2 separate regions of the Homo sapiens genome follow, and region 1 is linked to region 2. The links are contacts of gene promoters, found by promoter capture Hi-C in blood cells and fetal thymus (Javierre and others, 2016). All regions are on one chromosome and are shown on one strand. Each heading gives the region's core, a stretch centred on a gene start or on the middle of the fragment in contact. The rest is flanking DNA. Distances are from core to core; before and after follow the strand shown.

Region 1 (6,800 bases), core at 2,932-5,431, 1.2 Mb after region 2:
TCTGTTAACTCACTGTATAGCCACAGACAAATGACTGTTTCCCTCAACAATACTGCTATAGTTTGGATATTTGACCAAACCTCATGATGACATTTAATCCTCAATGGTGGAGGTGGAGCCTAATGGGAGGTGTTTGGGTTATGGGAGAGGATTCCTCACCAATGGTTTGGTGTTATCTTTCCTGGTGGTAATGAGTGAGAGCTCGCTCACTCTGTGAGTTCCTGCAAGAGATTCTCCAAGAGCTGGTTGTTTAAAAAGAGCCTGGCACCTTCCCCATTTCTTGTTTCCTTTCACAAAGTGATCTGCAGGCCGGGCGCGGTGGCTCATGCCTATAATCTCAGGACTTTAGCAGGCCAAGGCGGGCGGATCACCTGAGGTCAGGAGTTTGAGACCAGCCTGACCAATATGATGAAACCCTGTCTCTACTAAAAATACAAAAATTAGCCAGGTGTGGTGGAACGCACCTGTAATCCCAGCTACCTGGGAGACTGAGACGGGAGAATCGCTTGAACCCAGGAGGCAGAGGTTGCAGTGAGCCGAGATAGTGCCATTGCACTCCAGCCTGGGCAACAAGAGCAAAACTCTGTCTCCAAAAAAAAAAACCAAAGTGATCTGCACATGCAGGTTCCCTTCACCTTCCACCATGAGTGAAGCCACCTGAGGCCCTCACCAGAAGATGCTGGTGCCATGCTTTTGGTACAGTCTGCAGACCTGTGAGCCAAACTAACTTCTTTATAAATTACCCAGCCTCAACTATTCCTTTATAGCAACACAGACTAAGGACAAATACCAAAAACAAAGCCAATCAATCCCTGTGAAGGTCAGGACAATGGGTAGAAGTATAAGTGGGTCAGATTACGAAGCACTGGATATACCTAAAGAATATTAAATAACATATGATCATGGCCGGACGCAGTGACTCACGCTTGTAAGCCTGGCATTTTGGGAGCCCAAGGGGGATGTGGATCACTTGAGGTCAGGAGTTCAAGACCAGCCTGGCCAACATGGCGAAACCCCGTCTCTACTAAAAATACAAAAATGAGTCGGACATGGTGGTGGGCGCCTGTAATCGCAGCTACTCAGGAGGCTGATGCAGGACAATCACTTGAGCCCAGGAGGTGGAGGTTGCAGTGAGCCGAGATCGCACCACTGCACTCCAGCCTGGGTGACAAAGTGAGACTCTCTCTCAAAATAAATAAATAAATGCATAAATAAATAACATATGATCAAATCCTCAAAAGAAATCAGGCACCTATTTGAACATGGCATTCTACTGGCTACTATACAAAGTGAGTTGCCTAGCAAAGCCCATGTCTTCCTGGAAGCAGCTTGGGCACACAACCCAACCAGTCAGACATGAAGGATGTTCAGACCACTGGATAAATAGCAAATAACTCATATCCAGCCTCCGTGCATAACCCTGTATGTTTTGCCTACCACCGAGGACCACACTTAAATAGGTTGTGCAAACCAAAGCAAACTGCTCATGGAGGAAATATAAGAAATGACTGTACAGTACAAGAGTATTACTGACTATTTAACCCAGAGGTACTTTTTAAGGAGAAGGGAAAAGAACAATGAGAGAATGGAAAAACAAATTTAGAACTATACGTTACCATTAACTGTTTCTGGCATAAAAATCTCTTTTGATTGCATTTTAGTGGGGATTCACACTCCAGATGCACCAAATTTAGCTTCAGCATCAGTATTTGACCAACATCAGACAGTCGGCTTTGGCCTTTAAAAACTAAATAAGGAATGCTAACTTCAAAAACACTTTTGGCAGCCCTGAACCTGTAACTGATGAGTATGGGATGACAGAGGTCACCATTGCATCTAATCAGGGTTAAAGGCAATCATACACAAGCCAGGTCCTTCAGATTTATTTTGGTATGTAAACGTTTGCTTTCAAATATTTGTAAGCATTCTAGATGGAACAGAGTGAAATGCCCCTTATGTGCTTAAAAATGTAAATTTTGGCTGGGCGCGGTGGCTCACGTCGGTAATCCCAGCACTTTGGGAGGCCAAGGCGGGTGGCTCACGAGGTCAGGAGTTCAAGACCAGCCTGGCCAAGATGGTGAAACCCCATCTCTACTAAAAATACAAAAATTAGCCGGGCGTGGTGGCAGGTGCCTGTAATCCCAGCTACTCAGGAGGCTGAGGCAGAGAAGTGCTTGAACCCAGGAGGTGGAGGCTGCAGTGAGCGGAGATCATGCCACTGCACCCCAGCCTGGACGACAGAGCAAGACTCCATCTCAAAAAAAAAAAAGGTAAATTTTATCAGTCGGTATTACAAAAGTAAAAAGCTACAGTAATTAGGGTGAAAGCTGTCAATTTTACCTATTAAAATAAGTAAGAATATTTAATTCAATAAGCACAGTGAACATCAATATCGAAAGACAATTTTCGGTGGTACACTATAGTCGGGTGTGGTGGCTCATGCCTGTAATCCCAGAACTTTGGGAGGCCAATGCGGGAGGACTGCTTGAGGCCAGGATTTGAGATCAGCCTGGGCAACACAGCAAGACTTTGTCTCTGAAAAAAAAAACTTTAGCCAGGATTAGCGGGGCGTGCCTACAGTCCCAGTTATAGGCTCACAGCAGGGGAGGATCTCTTGAGCTCAGGAGATCAAGGTTGCTGTGAACTGTGTGATCAGGCCACTGTACTTCGGCCTCTGCCACAGAGCAAGACCCCAACCCCCAAACACAAAGTGAAACATATCTCTGGGCGTAAATAAATGTTCACCAAAAATTAAATAATTATGCTAAAATAACAGTTTAGATTTTAATTTTAATCTTTTTATAGTTTCCATTATTATCTTGTTAGGATGAAAAGTAGACTGTCAACTCTGCCACCCCAAAATTTCACATGAAGGAAAAACTCCAAAATTCATGTATGACATCCAACCTAAGTAATTTCAATCCAGTAATAATAAAGAACAGAGAAGGATGAAAAGAAAGTATTGGAGAAAAATTAAGTATTCCCAAATTGCTCCTCCACCAACATCATTTAAAAGTATGCATCCACTGAGTAATGCAAATGTGTAGAATACCAGAGAAGCCATCTAGCAGCAACAACACAGGCACTGTAATTTTAAACGTTTATATTTGCTTCCTATATTTTTGAAAAATAAAGTTGTAATAACAACGTTTTGAAAATTTCCAAACTCTTCCTTGTATCCCAGAGGTTCCTTTTTTGCTCTTTGGCTTTGGCTTTGACTGGATACTGATTTTACCCTTGGCCATTCTGCACCTAACCTGACTGTGCACTAGGTCCCCTGCCATAACCTGGATGAAGGTCTGGCTGAGCGTCTCTGGGATCCTTTACAGCCCCTCTAATGCATCAGTCGGGAATCAAAAGCGTGGGTCCCAACTCTGACAGTGACTTTTGAAGAGTTACTTGTCCGCACTAGGTCTCAGTCTTCTCATCTGTCAAATGGGAATAACAACTGTACCTATCTCACATCTGTTGTAAGGATTAGATAATATATTTAGAGAGCTTAAAATGTTTAAAATGTCCGCTACTGCTATCATCACTATAATTGTAGTGTTCAATGACTGTGATTTCACCAGAGGGTCCGTCTGCCTTACGAAATTGCTGTCAAAAGAGCTTACCAATAATCCGTAGCAGATCACACCAGCTCAACAGGCCTCCACCTCCAGGAAGCCCTCCAGGGGCGGGCCGCCCTGCGCTATGCCCTCTGGCTGGACGCGTAGGGCTCCGGCTCACTCCGCCCAAGTCAGCCTCCCGCATCCCGCACGCCCGCGCTGGGGCCCGCACCTGCTCAGCAGGCCCTTGGGTGCGAAGTGCGCTTCTCCCGCCCCACCCAGGGCAGACAGTCCCGAGCAACGGCGCCCGCCGATGTCTCCCGGGCGCCCAGGAGGCCCGGTCTCTCCAGGGCGGTGAGTTCAGGTGGCCCGCCCCGCCCCGGCCGGAGAAACCCCGAAGCCCCGCCGCCGCGGACTCCAGGCTGCACAGGCCCCCGGGCGACGCGGGCGTCTCCGGGGCGGGCTGGCAGCCCGAGGCCAGGAGAGCACCCGCGTGTTGGCCTGGACGCTGTGCTAGGGCAGCTCTTACTGTTTCACGTTGTCCCCCAGGGCCTCGCTTAAGTTCTTCTTGGCCGCCTCCAGCTCGCTCACAAAGGTCGCCATTGCTCCGCGTGTCTCAGCCCGACCGCAGACCGCCCGGCCACCGCGATCAACAACCCAAAAACCAACTCGGCGGAAGGCCTTGGCTCTGGAAGCTAAGCCGGCCGCCGTCAGTCCCGCCCCCAATCTCTCAGAAGTCGTTTGTTTGGTTTTCGGCTCCGCCCGCCTTTTCGCAGGGAAGGTGCCCGGCCAAACTCTGCTCTCTTCCTCCCGCCCCTCGAGTCACGTGATCCGCTTCACCTTGTCGCGCGCCCATCCTAAACCCGCGCGCCCCGCCTCGGCTGCAACGTTGCTGACAGGCTGGCGTGTCCCAAGCTCTTTCATTCTGTTACCGCTGGGGCAATTCCGAATTCAGCCTGCTGTTCTTCTGCCTGGAGGAGTACCTTACCCCTCCATTTAAAAAAGTAAATGCAGTATCAGTTTTACTCTTTCCTTGCCTTATTTTTCCCCGAGCACTAACCGTCTCATATGACATTTAGTTGATTTATCTTGTAAATGTTATGGCTCGAGGACAGGAGTTGTGTTTTATTCACTGTTACCCGCAATTCTCTAGAGCAGCGCCTGGCACATAGTGGATGCTTAATAAGTATTTGAGTAAATGAGGTAACTATGTAAAATTTGGAAAATACACAGAAAGATAAAGATAAAAAGAAGGAAAAAGTGTTTTACCACTCCCGGACAAACACTTAACTGAGAGAGATTTCTCCTTCACTTCGCACACTCCCATGACTTAAAATATTCTATGTTCAATTTTGCACGTTTTTAAACTTAAGGATTTATCTGTAGTATTACATTGTCTTTAGAATAATTTTAATGACAACATATTAAATACCCCCACAGATAGAAGGTACACAACTTGTTTCCCAATTGTTAGACTGTGTCCATTTCTTCTCTATTAAAAAGCAATACTGTAATATTGCTTTTGAAGCATATAGCATAATGAAGCAAAACTTCTTTATGCATAAAACTTTTCCTCCTTTAGGATTATTACTTTAGCATAGAGTCCCACACATAGAATTACTGGATCAAATGATGGGAATATTTATAAATGCCTTGGTGTATATTGTCAAATTGCCTCCCAAAGTTTTTTAAATAATCCTAGATAGCTTTTAGATCTTGTGTAATTTCTCCAAAGATGTCCCCTTAAGTTCATTCATTCAACTTCCTCACTGCCCAACCTAAACCCACAAGCCCTGTCCTGGCTGCAATGCCAGCCGGGCACCTTCTCTTCACTTGAATTCATACAGTGAGCTCCTATTATGTGTCTGGAACTCTTTGAGTACTGGAGATACACAGGTGAAAGGAGATACAAAGGTCAGGCAAAGTCTTCCTCTCTGTGTCAAAACTCTGGGTAAGTTTTGACACATTTAAAAAATATCCACTTAAGTTTTCCATGGCTCCCCACGCTCTGCTGAACAAATTCCAGACTCCAGCATTCAAATGTTCTCATGATCTGAACTCACCCTACCTGTGTACCTCACACACCACTGGCCTTCCCACATAACCCCACACTTGGACTCAGCATTCTAGTTAACTTGACTTTAACAAATCACATGGCTCTTCCCCTTTACGCATATCTCCTCTCTGCTGGTTTTGAGACTTATGGTTGGCTACCTCCATTTTTTTTGAATCAGGTTCAAACATATATATGAATCTATTCAAGGATCAAGTCAACAGGACTAGGAAAGGCTACAGATAGTTGGGTACATCTTCCAGGAAGAATCCCTGTTTCTCATTTGTCTCTAGCCACGAAGAAAGATAGGCCTCAAAGATTTTCTTTTTGAACCCATGCTTGACAATACTCATACGTCTAGCTCAATTAAATATCCCTTTCTCTCTCAGCACTTATACACCTATTAACACTAATTTTACTACAGTTTTTCAGTTAAATGTCCATTTAAACTGTAATGTTAGACAATATAATATACATAAATGGACATCTGACCAAACAATTTAATATTGAGAGGTGAAGCCGCCTGGGCTTCTGGGCTGGGTGGGGACTTGGAGAACTTTTCTGACTAAAGGATTGTAAACGCACCAATCAGCGCTCTGTGTCTAGCTAAAGGTTTGTAAACGCACCAATCAGCACTCTGTAAAAACACACCAATCAGCGTTCTGTGTCTAGCTAAAGGTTTGTAAACGCACCAGTCAGCACTCTGTAAAAACACACCAATCAGCATTCTGTGTCTAGCTAAAGGTTTGTAAACGCACCAGTCAGCACTCTGTAAAAACGCACCAATCAGCGCTCTGTGTCTAGCTAAAGGTTTGTAAACGCACCAGTCAGCACTCTGTAAAAACGCACCAATCAGCGCTCTGTGTCTAGCTAAAGGTTTGTAAACGCACCAGTCAGCACTCTGTAAAAACGCACCAATCAGCGCTCTGTGTCTAGCTAAAGGTTTGTAAACACACCAGTCAGCACTCTGTAAAAACGAACCAATCAGCGCTCTGTGTCTAGCTAAAGGTTTGTAAATGCACCAATCAGCACTCTGTAAAATGGACCAATCAGGATGTGGGCGGGGCCAAATAAGGGAATAAAAGCTGGGCACCTGAGCCAGCAGCGGGAATACAGTCTGGTGGCCTTCCATGCTGTGGGTGCTGTGTTCTTTCGCTCTTCATGATAAATCTTGCTGCTGCTCACTCTTTGGGTCTGCA
Region 2 (6,611 bases), core at 2,391-4,890:
CTCCAGCCTGGGCGACAGAGCAAGATTCCGTCTCAAAAAAAAAAAAAAATAAAAATAAAAAAAGGACGATGAGCTATAAAGAGTGCATTATAATTCAAAACAAAGCTTTACAAACATGAAAACCTGCCAAAGGAGATGTCCAAGAGCCAACATCCAGATGGGAAGTATTGAACAAAAACTTGTTTTATATACTAAGGTGAGCATGTGGAAATGTTTTTCCATTTTATAAAAACGTTACGGCCTAATGTTGCAACAAAGTCGAACTGCAAACATCACAAAGAAACCTCAGAGCAATGTCTGAGTTCTGGAAGGAAATAAATTGGAACATACCCTTATTATCCTGGCAGCCTCCAAAAGGATTCGGCAACGCTCCATGCCAGATTTTTGACTCCATATTTTAAAAGCAGCCTTTGCATTTTGAACAGCCAAATTTACTTCCTTTTCTCCTGAACATGTGAAAGTAGCTATCACTCGGCCTATAAAGAGCGGAAACATCAGTTTTAACTCAAATTGTTGCCACATATTTAAATAAAATATTATCTATCAATATTCTCTTAGTAGTAGTCTTTTTTTTTTTTTTTTTTTTTTTCTTGAGATGGAGTCTTGCTCTGTCACCCAGGCTGGAGTGCAGTGGCGCGATCTCGGCTCACTGCAACCTCTGCCTCCTGAGTTCAAGCGATTCCCCTGCCTCAGCCTCCTGAGTAGCTGGGACTACCAGTGCACGCCACTACGCCCAGCTAATTTTTTGTATTTTTTAGTAGAGACCGGGTTTCACCATGTTGACCAGGATGGTCTTGATCTCCTGACCTTGTGACCCACCCGCCTCAGCCTCCCGAAGTGCCGGAATTACAGGCGTGGGCTACCGTAACTTCTTGTTTTTATGTATGGTTTGATTTAGTGACCATCTCTATACTAGCAGGTTTTTTTGTTTTGTTTTTTTGTTTTTTAAGACGGAGTCTCGCTCTTGTTACCCAGGCTGGAGTGCAATGGCACGATCTTGACTCACTGCAACTTTTGCCTCCTGGGTTCCAGCAATTCTCCTGCCTCAGCCTCCCGAGTAGCTGGGATTACAGGCGCCTGCCACCACACACAGCTAATTTTTGTATTTTTAGTAGAGACGGGATTTCATCATGTTGGCCAGGCTGGTCTTACATTCCTGACCTCAAGTGATTCACCCACCTCTGCCTCCCCAAGTGCTGGGATTACAGCCATGAGCCACCACACCCGGCCTAGCAGTTCTTAACTGTATTTTGCGGTCATTGACATTAGGAGTCTGATAAAAGTTGCAGACCTCTCTCCAGAAAAATCTACTTAAACATATAACAGAATTACAGGAATGTCATGTCCCCTGCCCTAAACTCATCAAGGATTTAGAGTTAAGAACCCCTGCCCTCTACTATTTTACAGTTGAGTTTACTAACATTAACTTCTGATTAAGTTTTGCAACACTCCTAAACATTATCTCAGAATCTCAGGGGTCTTGTAAAATGAAAGTCAAAAGTAATCAGTCTATTGGGTTATAAACTCTGACTGTAAATCCCTTGTCTATATTCTATGTAGGTTATATCATACTACTTGATACTTGATAAATATAGTTAATAAGCAGTAATATCAGGATAAGGCAACCCTAAAGGAACATTTTTTTTTTCTCAAAAATTCCCAGATTTCCTTTTCTTATTCCACCTTTATTCCCTCTCCCTATTCTGGTGCAAATTATGAAACAATCAGTTTTTCTAGGCCCATAGCCCAAGGACTGTACTGCCTCTACCAACAAGAATTCTTTAAGTTTGCCAACTCAGCAAATCCTCTTCACAAGAACTCCTGGGACTCTTTCCAGGGAGATTTCACAAATCTGCAATTTCTGTTACAAACTTGAATAGCCAGCTGGTAAAGGCGGTGGCTGAGGATCACACACACTGTAGGCAATTAAAGCAAAGAGCAATTTTTCTTTCTTTTGTATCAGGATTAAGTCGGGGTAGAGAAGCTGTTTCCTCCTATATAAAGAAGAGATGTGATAATGCCTTCTGGCTCTGCCAAGTCACTGCTCTGTGGTTTAGTGTGGATGGTCAAATACTAAATTCTCCAGTCCCCTGCAAATCAGTTTTATTGCTCTGGCTACATTTTACACAAAATATTTACATTTTTCTCCCCACATATATTCCATAAAACCCAGCAAAATAAACACAACACAAAACCAAAACAAAAAGCCCCTTCTTCCTTATCTCTGTGACCTTCAGAGTTCCCAGAGTAAATCCAGTGCCTAGCACAGTGCTTAGCACACATTAAGCACTGGATTAAAAAGTTTTATTTCAGCAAGATGAATAAATTGTGGAGAGCTCACGTAGACCATGGTGACTATGGTTACCAATACTGCATCATATACTTGAAATTTGCTAAAAGAATAGATCTTAAATATTTCACTATCCAAAAAAAGCCATTAACTATGCAGAAGCAATGGATAATTAGATTGACCGTGGTAACCATTTTGCAAGGTATACATACATTACAACACGTTTTACACCTTAAGTATATACAATTTTTATTTGTTAATTATACTTCAATAAAGCTGGGGAAGAAAGTACTGAATAAAGGTGGGGTTTTTTCCTTTCCCAATTCTGATTAATGTGCAGAAATATTTTAATATTAGAATGTGGAGACAAAGTCCTCATTCGTAGTCATTAGAAACTATCTGTGAGCGTTCCTTCATTCCCAGCACAAATGATTATCTTCCCCACAACCCCGCCCCGTTCTTTTAGAATTCCTCTCCTATGCACACATTTGAAGACAATAATACATCAGTCCTGGTTTTAAAAGGGGGAACAGTTGGCTGGGCTTGGTGGCTCACGGCTGTAATCCCAGCACTTTGGGAGGCTGAGGCGGGAGGATCACCTAAGCTCAGGAGTTCGAGACCAGCCTGAGTAACATGCTGAAAACCCGTCTCTACTAAAAATACAAAAATTAGCCGGACATGGTGGTGGGAGCCTGTAATCCCAGCTACCAGGGAGGCTGAGGCGGGAGAAGCACTTGAGCCCGTAAGGTAGAGGGCGCAGTGAGCTCTGAGATGGTGCCCCTGCACTCCAGCCTGGGCGACAGAGTGAGACCCTGTCTCAAAACAAACAAAAAACAAACAAACAAACAAAACAAACAAAAAAGGAAGTTAACAGAGGCACGACTTCCCCCACCAGTACTTTGCGAACTCTGTTCTGGCCCGGGTAAAACAACTCACGATCCTACCACGCAACTCATCAGCTTTGCTTTTCCTCCCTACCCATCCCTGCCCGGAGGCACTCGCGTTGCCCCAGAATCGCTAGTTGCCTACACACACAACCTTAGACTCTCCACTGTCACTGTCTTGTGCTCAAGTCAACGCTGCAGAACACAGGAAACGGGGGCTGGCCGGGAAATCCGCGCATCCGGCCCCAGGGCGCCCCAGCCTCCCCGGCTCGTTGCAGTTACCGGTTGCTGGCTCGAAAGCTTTCTCGGTACCGGAGGCGTCCGCCGGCTCCACGCGGGCCCCGCCGCGGTAATTGAGCGGCTGCGACACGACGAAGGTGCCAGTGCTCATGGCGGCGACAGGAGAGGGCCGAAGACTGCGAAGAAGCGGGGAGAGCGCGGCCAGGCCTGCTCGGAGAAACATGAGTGGCGGACGCAGCTCCGCGGCAGAGGCTGACGGGCCGCGGGAGGGGCGGGGCCGCGGGAGGGGCGGGGCCGCGGGATCGGTTCTAGGAGATTTTAGGGGCAGTCACTCGATTCCTCTGCGGTCCAGGCCAGGCCCTCCCCTCGCCAGGAGGGTGGAGCAAGACACCACATTCTCCCCACCACCCCGCCATACCCCACACAGTCTCCAGGCGGGAAGAGGACTTCCTTCTTCGTGATCAATATTTGCGTAGCACTTTGCAAGTGTTTTCGGGTTCATCATTGCATGTAAGCATCCTAGGATCCCATTCTTAATCCTATCGCCTGAAGAAGGCAGAGGATTGGAGTGCCAAGAGTCTTTGGTGGTTACTTCACTGCTAAACCACCGTTTCTGTAATTGTATAATGCTTTTTAAAGGGTGACAGTAAAAAGCAAGGGGACTGTGAACGAGATAGATGATATTGTGATCTGAAACTGCTTTTTAAATTCTTAAAGAGAGACTGGGCGCTGTGGCTCTCACCAAGGCTGGAGGATCGCTTGAGCCCAGGAGTTTGCGGGCAACAGAGAGAGATCCCGTGTCTATAAAAAAATAAAATAAAAATAATAAAAATTGGGCCGGGCGCGGTGGCTCACGCCTGTAATCCTAGCACTTTGGGAGGCCAAGGCGGGCAGATCACCTGAGGTCAGGAGTTCGAGACCAGCCTGACCAAAATGGTAAAACCCCGTCTCTACTAAAAATACAAAAATTAGCTGGGTGTGGTGGCGGGCGCCTGTAATCCCAGCTACTTGGGAGGCTGAGGTGGGAAAATCGCTTGAACCCGGGAGACGGGTTGCAGTGAGCCGAGACTATGCCATTGCACTCCAGTCTGGGTGACAAGAGTGAAACTCAGAAAAAAAAAAAATTATCCAGGTGTGGTGGCACACGCCTGTGGCCCCAGGTACTTGGGCGGCTAAGGTGGGAGGATCCCCTGAGCCCCGGGGGTCCAAGCTTGCAGTGAGCTATAATCGTGCCACTGCACTCAGGCCTGGGCAACAGAGCGAGACCCTGTCTCAAAATAAATAAATTCTGAAGGAGCAATGTAAATGCTATTAATGACAAATATTGATAGAAACAGAAGCCTAACATACAGAATACGAAGAGCAAAGGCCACAGGAAAAAGTGTCAGGAAACAAAATGCCTTCTGTAAGACAAAGCAGCCACCCAGAGGCACTCACAGGTCTGTCAGCTGAGGGATCTTGCACAAAGGTTCATTCTTCTCACCAAACTTCCATGCACCTCCAGTAGAGACTTTGACAAACAGAAAGTAATTGGCAATTTGGACATTTCTTTTAGGATTGTTTCTCTTCTGGGGGCTGCTGTCTTTCTCAATGTTTTTTCCTTTACCTGCCAGCTCACCAGCGCAATATTAGGGAGTGTGGTTTTCAGGTTTAGAGTATATATAATGTATTCTGATCAAGTTTTCTGGCACTCTATACCAGTTTGTTCACTTTTTCAGTGCTACTGAGATGTGTAGGTCTTGGTCCTCAGATGGAAACAGCAGTGCCCAAACTCAGAATACCTGAGGCCACACTCACATATTATTTTATTATTGTCCATTGCAAACAGAATTGAAACATATCAGGAGTTGGTGACGAGCAGCACTATAGATTTCCAAGATCACTGAATGGTCATTTAGGTACAGAAACTATACGTCTCAAATTTTATGGGACAATTTCTATTTAAAAGATTCTGTCCCCAACCAATGCATTTTGACTTGTCACATCATAATTCCTGATGTTTGTTTTGGAAATGTGGTCGTGATGTCTATTGAATTAATTCATAGATGATAAGACTGACAAACCTCTGGCCAGGCACAGGACTCACACCTGTAATCTCAACACTTTGGGAGACCGTGGCAGGAGGATCGCTTGAGGCCAGGAGTTCAAGACCAGCCTGGGCAACATAGTGAGACTCTGTCTCTACAAAATATTTTTAAAAATTAGCCGAGCATGGTGGCACAAGCGTGTAGTCCTGACTACTCAAGAGACTGAGGTGGAGGATTGCTTGAGGCCAGGAGTTCAAGACTGGAGTGAGCGATCATGGCACCACTGCTCCAGCCTGGGCAACAGAGTAAGACCCTTCCCCAAAGAAAACAGATCTCCTCCAAAATATCTACCTTTTAAATATCTAGCTGTTCCTCTTACCTATCTGTGCTTTTATTATTAAATTATTATTTTTAACTTTTAGGTTCAGGGGTACATGTAAAGATTTGTTACATAGGTAAACTTGTGTCATGGGGGTGTGTTGTATAGATTATTTCATTACCCAGGTATTAAGCCTAGTACCCATGAGTTATTTTTCCTGATCCTCTCCCTCCTTCCACCCTTATTATTAGATTATTAATGTATTATTTTTCATTAGCAAAATCCAACATGTAGAAAGAGCTTTATAGGTTACAGAGCCCTTTCACATTTACTTTCTCACATGAAGCTCATAATAACCCTACAAAAGAAAAGGAAACTAACAGAGATTGAGCTAGGAGGTAGTATGTGGCACTTTGTCAAATATCTCAGTGACAATCATGCAAGATAGGTTTTATCATCCCCATTGTACAGATGAGGAAACTAATAGAAAGGTCGTAGAGCTTCCCCATAAAGGAGCTAAGGCTGGAGTCCAGCTCTGTGCAAGTCCAAAGTAAATTTCTTCTTACTACACCAGGTCGAGATGTTGACCCCATGAAGGTTGCTATCAAAATTCACTCTTATGTTGGTGGATATTTATCAGAAACCCAGAAATCTGGTTCTAGGGAGATTTAAAGGACATGTAAACTTCTTAGGATATTTGTCAGCACTACCCAGTAAGCAGCCCAGAAGTCACAGAGGATGCTGGCCAGTTTACAAGTTCAGGGTGAAATTCAAAGGGACAAAGATGCCACAAGGAGCAGAAGGAATGCCAAAAGAGAAACACCTCTTAGATGGGTGTGTGTTGGAGGGCA

Evidence for each region. Contacts are between HindIII fragments. The CHiCAGO score rates a contact against its expected background, and 5 or more counts as called.
Region 1: the fragment with the promoter of TADA1 here is called in contact with the fragment with the promoter of ALDH9A1 in region 2 in 1 of 17 cell types (M1 macrophages); the score reaches 7.6 in M1 macrophages.

Annotation. Positions count from the first base shown.
Region 1 is chr1:166,872,083-166,878,882 of GRCh38, forward strand. It overlaps TADA1 (transcriptional adaptor 1), which reads right to left and starts at 4,182. Exons shown (of 8, transcript NM_053053.4): 1 at 4,078-4,182. The coding sequence starts at 4,151. RefSeq lists silencers at 3,639-4,038, 4,069-4,118 and an enhancer at 4,519-4,568. The HindIII fragment of the contact is 11,749 bases long and covers 1-6,800 here.
Region 2 is chr1:165,694,922-165,701,532 of GRCh38, forward strand. It overlaps ALDH9A1 (aldehyde dehydrogenase 9 family member A1), which reads right to left and starts at 3,641. Exons shown (of 11, transcript NM_000696.4): 1 at 3,457-3,641; 2 at 331-476. The coding sequence starts at 3,637. It also overlaps the pseudogene CA14P1. RefSeq lists enhancers at 3,377-3,606, 3,450-4,032, 3,897-4,076 and a silencer at 3,637-3,826. The HindIII fragment of the contact is 1,150 bases long and covers 3,473-4,622 here.